4 separate regions of the Homo sapiens genome follow, and all the other regions are linked to region 4. The links are contacts of gene promoters, found by promoter capture Hi-C in human tissues and cell types (Jung and others, 2019). All regions are on one chromosome and are shown on one strand. The core of a region is centred on a gene start or on the middle of the fragment in contact, and the rest is flanking DNA. Distances in the headings are between cores, read along the strand shown. Region 1 has its middle 28 kb from the start of SEC24B. Region 2 has its middle 9.0 kb from the start of SEC24B. Region 3 overlaps SEC24B (SEC24 homolog B, COPII component). Region 4 holds the start of LRIT3 (leucine rich repeat, Ig-like and transmembrane domains 3).

Region 1 (2,700 bases), core at 141-2,640, 440 kb before region 4:
ATTCTACAAAAAATTTTAAGCACCTATTTATATAGACACTGTTGACATAAAACAGTCTTTGTGGTGTCTATAGTCCAATGAGAGAGGCAGATGCTAAAGAAATATAGGCACAATTAATACATAAAAGGCATTTTTATGTGGCACACAGTCCATACCATATGACCCAACCAGAAGGTTCAAGTATTTCAGTACAATTTAGGTCAACTTCAATATTAAAAATACTTCCTAAGTACAATAGTAATTTTTAGTGCATATTATAAACAAGGGCCAAGAAAAAAAAACCCTAATTTGATCTTTATATTTGTTAGTTCTTAATGAAAATACTAATTGCTCTTTACCCATTTCTGTGAAACTCTAAATTTTTATTTGTGATGAGTCCAGGTCTATTGGATAGACTTTCAGCATTAGTAAAATGACAGAACATATTACAGGGAAAGTATAAGAACATACAGATTCATTTTCTTTTAAGCTTGGAAACAGGATTCTTTGACTCAAATAGGGCTTCTGTTTGGTGAATTAATGGGTCACCATAACCAAATAATTGTAAGTCACAATTTAACTGAAAACCAGAGAGTAAAAATAGCAAAGACTAAACATATAACATCCTTCTTTCTTCATCTTTGCTTCTGAAAGGTGTGTCTTTCCTGAACTATGAATCACTGCCACAGACTTTGCAAATTTGTTCCATAAGAGGGAAGTACCAGAGCAGCAGTAATGTTCTCATCGCGGGCTTCGCTGCTTCGGAGGGAAGAGGGGCACAGCCTATATAGTTTGGATAACTCTCATTCCCCACAGGTCGCATAAAATGGAAACTGTTAAAACATAAATATTCTGCATTGTTTCACATTACCTTTACACAATAACTGTGACGACTATACTAATAGCAGGCATGATCTTATTGCTTCCTTTCCTTCTTAAACTTGAGTCTTGGGTATCATCATAATCAACATTCTAAAGCTTCCAACATCTCAATCCTAAAAAGTAAATGAAAGCATGGTCCATAAAATTTACAGCTTATGTTTAGTATTTTGGCAACTATTGCTACTCCATAGGCCTGAAAGTAAAATAAATAGGGCTTGAATTTTGAGTCGAAATCAAAATTAAGGTTTTCTTTTTCTTTTATGACTTGGCTTGCTACAGAATTCTGATTGCTACAGAAAAAATTCTGAAAAATATTTGGTAAAATTCTGATTGCTAAAAAATTTTTATGAAATTCCCAGATTAATAATTGTTATTTTAGCCAAAAGTTTTTCAACATTGTTAAAATATAGCATTGGCTAAAGTCTCTCTCTCTATGTGTATGTGTGTGTGTGTATGTATATATAGATGCACACAGACTTTATTTATAATTTTTGCATGCCCTAAAATTTCCGTTTATGTATTCTTTCTGATTGTTTTTCCAAAAAATTAACACCCACATTGACTTATTAGCTTCTCTCCTAAGATAATTTTCTCTCCATATATGAAACAAAGTTGAAAAAAAATAGCTTCTTTTACATCATATAGTAATAATTTCAGTATCACATATTTTCTTCTTTGTCTTCCCAATAACAATTGCTTGAACAATGATGATAATGAATTTGTGGGTGAAATTATTATTACTTTGTGCTTCTTTACCCTCTTTTGTGTAATTAAGGGTACAGTGTACTTCTTTACCTTCTTTTGTGTAATTCAGGGTACAGTGTACTGTTTTACCCTCCTTGTGTAATTCAGGTACAGCAGCACCACATAGTGGACATTTTGGTACTTCTCCGTGAAGAATCATTTCGCTTACCTTCAAAGCAATTGGTTTGCTTTAAGGAATGCAATTTGTGTGGATATTGCTGATGATTATCTCTCTTAATATTGCTCTGGTGAGCCAACATGTGAAGTTACAGATTTCACCTAATATAAGAACAATAATCAGCCTCACAGTCATTGTGAAAAGATAAAAGAGAAGTATTTTAAAATAAGTGTGAAGATACATATAAGTCTGTGCTTCAAATTTACTATGTAATACTAATTATTTCCTAATGTATACTTTGTAAGGGAAGCAAAGCCAATGCTTAGATTTTAGTAATAATAATTCTCAGAGTAAGCCATTCATCCTCATCCATATTCCTATATATCTATAGAAAGAGGCCTAATAGAGGTAATTGTTGCTGTTGTGATTAAATCAAGGCACAAAGAAAAAAATAATGTATGCTATCCCAGGAGTTGATATGTAAATCCAGTTAGCAAAGAGAAAAATTATGCTAATATTAACATTGTCATTTTTTTTGCCACAGTAAGTCTGGATTTGTCAGACATCAATTAAAATCAGGGTGTGAGCAAGGATTTTACACATTCATGGAGAAACATAAAGAGCTGCCATCTAAATGCAATAATACAGTATTTAACATTGTTCTAATAGTCACACCACTTTTTGTCCCAGAATAATTTATGCTCCCTGACTCAGCATACAACTCCCTGGCTAGATTGGAACAGAAACAAACTGACAACCCAGAGAGGAAGCATTGTGTAGAAGGGACAACTCACCCACAGCCCCATGCTTTAGGGGCTTCAGCCAGTTTGTTCATAGAATCAGACTCACTGGAAATATTCAGGACTTAGAATGGTGCAAGGCGAAAAGGAGCAAAGGGAGTCATTTGCAAAAGATAAAAAACACAGTCACTTCTACAGAGTTCAATCATGCAATCACTTGTTGAATTAACCAGACAA
Region 2 (2,700 bases), core at 143-2,642, 420 kb before region 4:
AGCTGCTGGAGAATGCACCTTTATATCCAGATTCTGGAATCTTTCAGGCAACCCTGCCTTCTTCCTCTTTGACTTCTATTTCTCATTCAACTCACCAGATTATTGGGATAATCATGTGTGTGGAGAAGATTCTCAATCTCTTTGAGTTTCAGATTTCTCATCTGCAGAATTAAAGTGTGTACTTTTTTGAGGAAATAATACATGAACATACATAGAACAATGCCTGGCACAGCCTAAATGCTCCAGAAATGGGAACTATTATTTTTTCCTCAGACTTTTACCTTATTTTGAAAGTAAGCAGGCTGGGCACGGTGGCTCATGCCTATAATCTCAGCACTTTGGGAGGCCGAGGCAGGTGGATCACCTGAGGTCGGGAGTTCGAGACCAGCCTGACCAACATGCAGAAACCCCATCTCTACTTGTGGGCGGAAAGCCACCCAGGTGCTGAGGCAAGAGACTGAAGGCACAAGCTGTTCCAGTATAATAAAAGAAAATAATTAGAATACAAAAAGTTATACTAAAAATAAGATATAGACATGATTATATATGAATATTATCAATCTTTAGTTGGTAGTGTTGCTCTTTTAGTATTATAATAATCTCTGTTTTATAATCATAACCTAGAAAACACCAGGCCATACAGAGTCAGGAGCTGAAGGGACATGGTGAGAAGTAACCAAAGGACAAGAGTGTGAGCCCTCTGTCACGCCCGGATAAGGGCCGCTTGAGGGTTCCTTGGTCTAGCGGTAAGGTCAGTGCCTGGGAAAGCACCCATTACTTGGCAGACCTTGGTCTAGCGGTAGGGCCAGTGCCTGGGAAGGCACCCGTTACTCGGCAGACCTTGGTCTAGCGGTAGCGCCAGTGCCTGGGAAGGCACCCGTTACTTAGCAGACCGGGAAAGCGAGTCTCCCTTTCCCCGGGGGGAGTTAGAGAACACTGCTCCACCAACTCTTGTGGGAGTCCTGACATTAGCCAGGCCTGCCCGCAGTCATCTGGAGGCTTAAACATCTGTGGTGCTGTGCTTCAGTGGTCATGCTCCTTGTCCACTTTCATGTTCTGCCTGTACACCTGGCACCTCCTTTTAAGTTCTTAAAAGATAGCAGTAACAAAATTAGTGAAAGTACTAAAGTCTTTGATCTTCCTGATAAGTGCACAGAAGAAATGCTGACATATACTGTCCTCCCTCTCTGCTTCAGCTATCACAAAGGGAAAGGCCCCCCGTCACGTGGACACGTGACTTGCTTGACCTTATTAATCATTTGAGATGACTCAAACTCCTTACCCTGCCCCCTTGCCTTGCATACAATAAATAGCAGTGTGTCCAGGCATTCAGGGTCACTACCAGGCTTCGCGCATTGGTGGTAGTGGTCCCCTGGGCCCAGCTGTGTTTCCTTCTATTTCTTTGTCTCATGTCTATTTTTCTACAATCTCTCATCTCTGCACACTAAGGAAAAACCCACAGGCCCTGTAGGGCTGGACCCTACACTACTAAAAATACAAAATTAGCGGGGCATGGTGCATGCTTGTAATCCCAGCTACTTCGGAGGCTGAGGCAGGAGAATCACTTGAACCTAGGAGACGGAGGTTGCAGTGAGCTGAGATTGAGCCATTGCACTCCAGCCTGGGCTACAAAAGCAAAGCTCTGTTTCAAAAAAAAAAAAAGAAGAAAGAAAAAGAAAGTATAGGGCATTAATTATAGTAACTTGTGCACAGTTTCATCATTTGTGCCAAATGATCATGTAACAAAATTATGACTATGCCTATTGTGTATTATGTGTGTGTGCACATTAACTATCAAAATGTCCATATTTTGTATCTGCAACAAACTTATATATTGGCAGCAACTACAGCGCTATTGGCCAATTACAACAACAACATGAAACACAGACACCGAGAGAAGAAACGTTATCTAAACCCAAAGTGTGAGTGTCTCAGAGCACATATTTTCCAAATGTCAGTTAACAGGGAAAACTAACAGATACCATAACCAGTGACATTCCCTCCCTGCCCTGAATTATGGTGAAAGTGTATGAATTATATGCCCCATTTTCAGCTATACAATTTAGAGCTCCACTGGAGTTCTGTGGAAGACCAAGTGAGGAGCTTTCAGTTTTGGAAAGTAGATACTCATATGACATAAATGGTCTAGATTCAGGAAAAAGAACAGCTAGGCCTTGGTGATGGCTTCTGAATGCAGTTTGTACAATTTACAACTCAAGTGTCATGTGATATCATTTCTGTGGGGATTCTCGTTCAAAAATAATGAGACTAATGTTGATAAACGATCGAGATTTTTATTATGAGTTTCCGTAAAGGTGTAACACAGGGGTCTCTCCCAGAAAAATAGAAAGTAAAGCTTCCAACAATACTTCTCTATATCTCTCCTCCCTCCAAAGTTCCCTACTTATGACGGCTGCTAAAATTCTCCTCCTCTTTCAATCTCCCAATCCTTCCATGTTGTTATCTCACAGTTTTCTTTCTACCCTGTTCACTACCTTCTTCCCACATGGTGTAAAAGTGAGAAGCTTCTCTTGTACCCCTGCCCACCAACCATACATAGAAGACAGCTAATGGCCTCCCATTTCTCTCTCTCTTCTTGGCAAGAAGCATGTAGCATCCCCTACAAAGTATATTTTTCTCCTCCTGAATGATTTTTGCATGAGACATTTTCTTACAGAGAAATTCCGGGGACTAACATTC
Region 3 (2,700 bases), core at 108-2,607, 410 kb before region 4:
AGCCAGTGGCCAAGTCTTAACTTGTTTTCCTTAGGATTTCTGATTAATGGATATTGTGAAATGAGGTATAAGCCTGGCTTTGGAACCAGCAATGCCTGGCTTCTTTGCTCCTTACCAACGATTTGAATTCGTATGAATTAGTGGGCTTTCATGGCCCTGTTTATTTGTATATAAAAGATGATAGTGATACTTCACAGAATTGTTTGAGAAGCATATCAGATTATATGTAGAAAAGCAAGGTATCTGGCATGTAGTAGATTCTGAACCAATATTGATTTTCTTTTCTTTCTGTATTTTGAGACAGGGCCTCACTTTGTCACCCAGGCTGGAGTGCAGTGATATGATCACAGCTCACTGCAGTCTTGACCTCCCCGGGTTAAGGTGATTCTCCCACTTCAGCCTCCTGAGTAGCTAGGACTACAGGGGCATGCCACTATGCCCAGCTAATTTTTGTATTTTTTGTAGAGATGGGGTTTCACCATGTTGCCCAGGCTCAAGTGATTCTCCTACCTTGGCCTCCCAGAGTGCTGGGATTACAGCGTGAGCCACCATGTGTGGCCTTGGTTGTCTTTTGGCCCCTCACTCATAGCACTCATTGTCGTGGTATCCAAGAAGGATAATTGATGTTGTAGCAGGAATAATCTATACTTAATGCAGTGAGATTTAATCCAGTTGTTTACATAGCCTGTGTCTGTAGGCTCTGTCCGCCAGCGGTGACTGGAACAGTTACCTTCATCCTCAGGTATATTTGCAGTTTATGGAATGTAGGAGAGAAAGAATACAAGAAAACATTTCTCTCAGAGCTTGGGAAGAAGCTCTATAACTGTTATCCTTGCATTATGATAACCTAGGATATCCAGATGTAATCTGAGACTCCTCATTTTTGAAATCACCAAGGTTTGTAATTGCCTATTGCCTTAGGGGTGTGTGGGTGTGCAAGCATGCACATTTTTTATGCCCATTAAAAATCTGTATTTTGGCATTGTTAGTGATACCTTATTGGCAGGGAGAGTATATTAAAATATTCAGTAATCAGTACTGTGTATACTGACCACTAAATGGATACCATCCTTCATACCAGAGCAGGATCCTATAAGCTTTCAGCTGTGCCAGGCATTACTCCTTCAGCTGCGGATTATGAGAAGGTTTGGGCTAGCATGGTGGGGTAAAGCAGGGGAATAGGACCATGGCTATGACTCATTACCAACTGATTCAGAGCTATTTTAACATTTTAACAAAGATAATTGTTAAAATGAATACCTGGGTGCATACTGACTGAATATTGGCCTATTTCTTTGTAATTGAGTGATGAATGAATTCAGTGATTACATTCTTCGATCTGATTCTACCTCAAAGTTAGTATGAATTTATCTTAGTAGGATAAAGGAACTTGTACTTTGCTGACCTTGATGTTTGTGTTCAGATAATGGAAACTGAAATCTGACTTTGATCTGACTGAAAAAAAAAGTTGGAATTCAATTCAGGAAAATATTAATGAAACAACTATTTTTAATATTAAAATGTGTCTCAGGGAGGGGGAATGATCATGCTATTATGGAAATCTCAGGAGTAGTCAAATTAGAGATGTGGTTTTTGTTTTCTCTCTTCATTTTTTTCTTTTTAAACAATAATTGTAGTATGGTGGAAATCATGACTGTTACAATCTTATTCAGGTAACTTGCTTTATTTTTGTGTTTTCCTGTATGTTTATATTACTCATTTATCAATTTTGCACATTTTTACTAGGTTTGGTAACCTTTTTATGTCAAATGTTTTTTTCCCTATAAAATGGCTGTATTGTAATATTAGAATAATCCAATGTTGATGCTTTATTTTCCTTGAAGTTTCTCCAACTTTATATTTATGGTAATATCTCTTAAGTGAGCTCTCAGTACCAGTTAGTCCTGTGGTATTTCCCTGCTCCATTCCCAGTGTCACATGCTCCCCTTTTCCCTCAAATTCTCAGTATCCTGTCTCTCTGCCTCCCTTTCCAATGGTGACCTTACTTATTTTACTAAGAAATTGAAAGCAATCTGACAATCTGAAGATAAAGTATTAATCTTCTGCCACCAAATCTGTCAGTCTTCCTGCATATTATTCTTGTGTTATCTGAGACAAATTCAGATTATTTGGGTACAGAATTCTGTTCCCTCTCTTTTAAGAACTTTGTCCCTCCGATTATCTCATTTACCATCAATTTTGATCTTAAACACCTGAACCTTATTTTATGCAATGCATATGTAATCCTAACAGTTATATATAACTTTTATTTTAGAGACGAGATCTCACTGTGTTGCCTGGGATGGTCTCAAACTCCTAGGCTCAAGTGACCCTCCAACCTCTGCCTCCCAGAGTGCTGGGATTACAGGCATGAACCACCATGCCTGGCCTATAAATTTAATTTACAATTCCTAGCAAATATTTATGTAGCTCCTCTTTACATAACATTTTGTGCTAGATACTCTGGGCATACAAATGTGAATGTTCTCTGCACTCCAGGAGTTCTGTACCCCTCAGTAAAAGAGGAGAGGACTGTCAGCACTGAACATGTGTTTCCTTCATAAGGCCTGTGAGAAGGGTGCCCAGAGTTTTGAAGAGGAAACAATTCTTTTTGGTTAAAGTAATAGGGAATCTTAAGGGAGGAAGTTAGAACTTCAGCTATATCTAAAATGATGGACACATTTTGAATTGTCAGGTAAA
Region 4 (2,700 bases), core at 192-2,691:
CTCCATAGGGAATCTAAGGGTTTCCTTGATAACTTCATCCCCGCTTATCTCTCCAGCTTTATCTTTTTTAACTTCCTGCCTCAAAATCTTATGCCTGAGCAACAAGAAGTGCTTGAAATTCTCTGAGGACAATACACTGTTTCTCACTTCCCTCCCTTTGTTCCCACTATTCCCTTTGCTTGCAATGCAACTTTCTGGATTTTCCCATAATACATCGTCATGCACCCTGTAAAAGGCAGCCAGGCACCACCCACCCTAGGAAGTCTTGCTTGACTAACACAGGCTGGGTTTGATGCTCTTTTCTCGTGCTTCTTTAGTAGTCTGTTCCTCCCTTTATCGTGTGAGTTCCTTATGTGTAATAACTGTCTTATTTATCTTTGTACCCCTCAATGCTCAGCAGAGAATAAGTACTCAGTAAATATTTGATGAACAAACGAGTTGTGCAGAATCTGAAAACCTGCAGTATTTTATTTTAATTGAGCACAGTTTTTCAGACTGTATGGTTTTTATATACATTCTATTGGTTTTAAATAACATTTTCTATAATATGCTTATTTTTATAGAATTAATTTTCTTTTAAAAAGGTTTTTAGTTAAAGAGGATGGTTAGAAGCAGCCACTAAGAAGGTTAAATGACGTATATTTATTACTTAAATCCTTGATTGTCCCTGTGGATTCTCCACTCTATGAGTGTGGAGATACTTTTAAATTTAATTACATTTAATTTTTATTTTCTGACAGAGCCTAATATAGCTGAAAGAATTAGAGTTGATCTTCAAATATGGCTTTGATGCTGATAACTTGGGAAACTATTGAACAGAGATAGTTGCCTGCATTAAAAATAAATGTGCTGGGATAAACCTTCCACACACTGAGATGACCTGGAAGAGTCTCAGAACACGTTCTTATTGGAGAACTTAGTCCTGCCACATCAGTAGTGGATTGAAGCATTTTCCCTATAAAATCTGTGTAACTGACTTGTTTTACTTTACTTTTAGAGATAGCCAGTATGTGGCAACATCGATAACTCTTTTCTAAATCATTTTTATGTCATGTGCTTCTATTTTTAAAACTAAATTTTGTAAAACTGAATTAGTAACACATTCTGGCAAAAACCAAATGCAAAACATTTTATAATGTTGTAACATGTAAATAATCTACAGAATTTTCTTGCATCTGCCAAGACTGAATTATTTTACATTAAGTATATTTTTAAGGTGTAGTGGCAAGTACATCCAGAAGAAAGGGATTTAATAGGCATTTTCTTGCAAATCTAGTTACGGGTAACTATTGAAATTGCTTGTCATGTGTTTGATTTTCATTTTCCTTAGAATGTGTTACTTTGCTGAAACTGTATTCAAAGGCTGGATCAATTGATCTCCTGCAAGATACACTTGAAGGTTAAGTAACTACAGATCTCAGCTAATCCCGTGTAATCTGCTGTTACTAAATGGCTGTTTGTATTCCAGGCATACCAGGTTCTGAATGCTTAGGATTCGGTTTTTACCTTTTGTTTAAATAACCTCTAAAAGGAGCAATGCATCTCTTTGCATGTCTGTGCATTGTCCTTAGCTTTTTGGAAGGAGTGGGCTGTTTGTGTCCTTCACAGTGCACCTGTGATTATCACGGCAGAAATGACGGCTCAGGATCAAGGTATGCTCCTCTGCTTGTTACTAAGTGTTCTCATTATTTTGACAAAAAGGACCCAAACAAGAAAGCCTACTTTTGAAAGCAAATGTTTGGGGATCAGAAATCACAGAAGAGAATGTTTAGTGTCCATAAGCTTTAACTTAATTGTTTTAACACTGGTCACCTACTCCTTCACTGTTTTCGTTTTGAGCAGTTTAACTCTCAAAGGCCTCTCAAGGTATTGGAAATTTCTAAACACATTCTATGTTCCAAAATTTTTATTATGCTCATGTTCACAAATTGTTGCTTGAGATCAAACGATTTAAAGGTGCATGGCCAGCTAAGCCCTTGATTATAGAAAGGCTAAGAGGGCAGGCTGAACAGGAGCTGCGTGACATGCTCAGATCCTTTGCTTTCATGGCTCTCCACTTCCTTTGAGAACTATTCATGCCAATTGAATGGCAGAAAGAAAGATCTCAAGAGTGAAGTTAGAGAGGTTAATAGTTAGAATTTTTCATTTTAAGCTGATGGAATTTACAAAATAAAGAAGATTGAAAAAGATACTGTCTGTTTCAGACACTGCAGGATCTCACAGAAGTTATTCAATCTCTAGGTTGCTTTAGCATCTACTTGTGTAGTGAGAAGAGTTATTTACTTATATTGTGCATGAGGCCTTTTAGATATGTTAAATGCAAAACAGAACTCTTGCTAGCTAAACACAGTAGAACTTGAATTTTTTTTTTGAGAGGTTATTTAATAACAAAATCAGGTTATTTGTGACTTGGTTGAAGTAAACGGTGTCTCAGATAAAATAATTTGTTAAAAGAGTTGCCCAATTTATGTCTTATAACTTTAAACAAATAAATAATAATAAATAAGACATATTTGTGAAAAGCTTATCTTGTTATTGTATAAACTTTAGTTAACCAATTCTTGGTATTTTTTGAGATATTCACTGGGTGGTTAAAGACAATGAAGAGAATGTAGCAAGTTAAAGACCTACTTGTCCAGGGACGTGTAGCAGTGAAGGATCAGGCCAGGGTACTTTTGAGAAACTATCACAGAAATGTTT

Evidence for each region. Contacts are between HindIII fragments. The study calls those that stand out against the background at their distance.
Region 1: a contact is called between a fragment that was not itself captured here and the fragment with the promoter of LRIT3 in region 4, in 1 of the 25 tissues and cell types used here (spleen).
Region 2: a contact is called between a fragment that was not itself captured here and the fragment with the promoter of LRIT3 in region 4, in 3 of the 25 tissues and cell types used here (lymphoblastoid cells, mesenchymal stem cells and spleen).
Region 3: a contact is called between a fragment that was not itself captured here and the fragment with the promoter of LRIT3 in region 4, in 1 of the 25 tissues and cell types used here (mesenchymal stem cells).

Annotation. Positions count from the first base shown.
Region 1 is chr4:109,404,800-109,407,499 of GRCh38, forward strand. No RefSeq gene overlaps it. Among named protein-coding and RNA genes, the nearest start is that of SEC24B, 28 kb to the right of the region's middle. The HindIII fragment of the contact is 5,184 bases long and covers 1-2,700 here.
Region 2 is chr4:109,423,450-109,426,149 of GRCh38, forward strand. No RefSeq gene overlaps it. Among named protein-coding and RNA genes, the nearest start is that of SEC24B, 9.0 kb to the right of the region's middle. The HindIII fragment of the contact is 3,067 bases long and covers 1-2,700 here.
Region 3 is chr4:109,441,152-109,443,851 of GRCh38, forward strand. All of the region lies in intron 1 of SEC24B (SEC24 homolog B, COPII component), which reads left to right. Among named protein-coding and RNA genes, the nearest start is that of SEC24B-AS1, 8.7 kb to the left of the region's middle. The HindIII fragment of the contact is 3,972 bases long and covers 1-2,700 here.
Region 4 is chr4:109,846,666-109,849,365 of GRCh38, forward strand. LRIT3 (leucine rich repeat, Ig-like and transmembrane domains 3) reads left to right here and starts at 1,442. Exons shown (of 4, transcript NM_198506.5): 1 at 1,442-1,652. The coding sequence starts at 1,537. The HindIII fragment of the contact is 6,154 bases long and covers 1-2,152 here.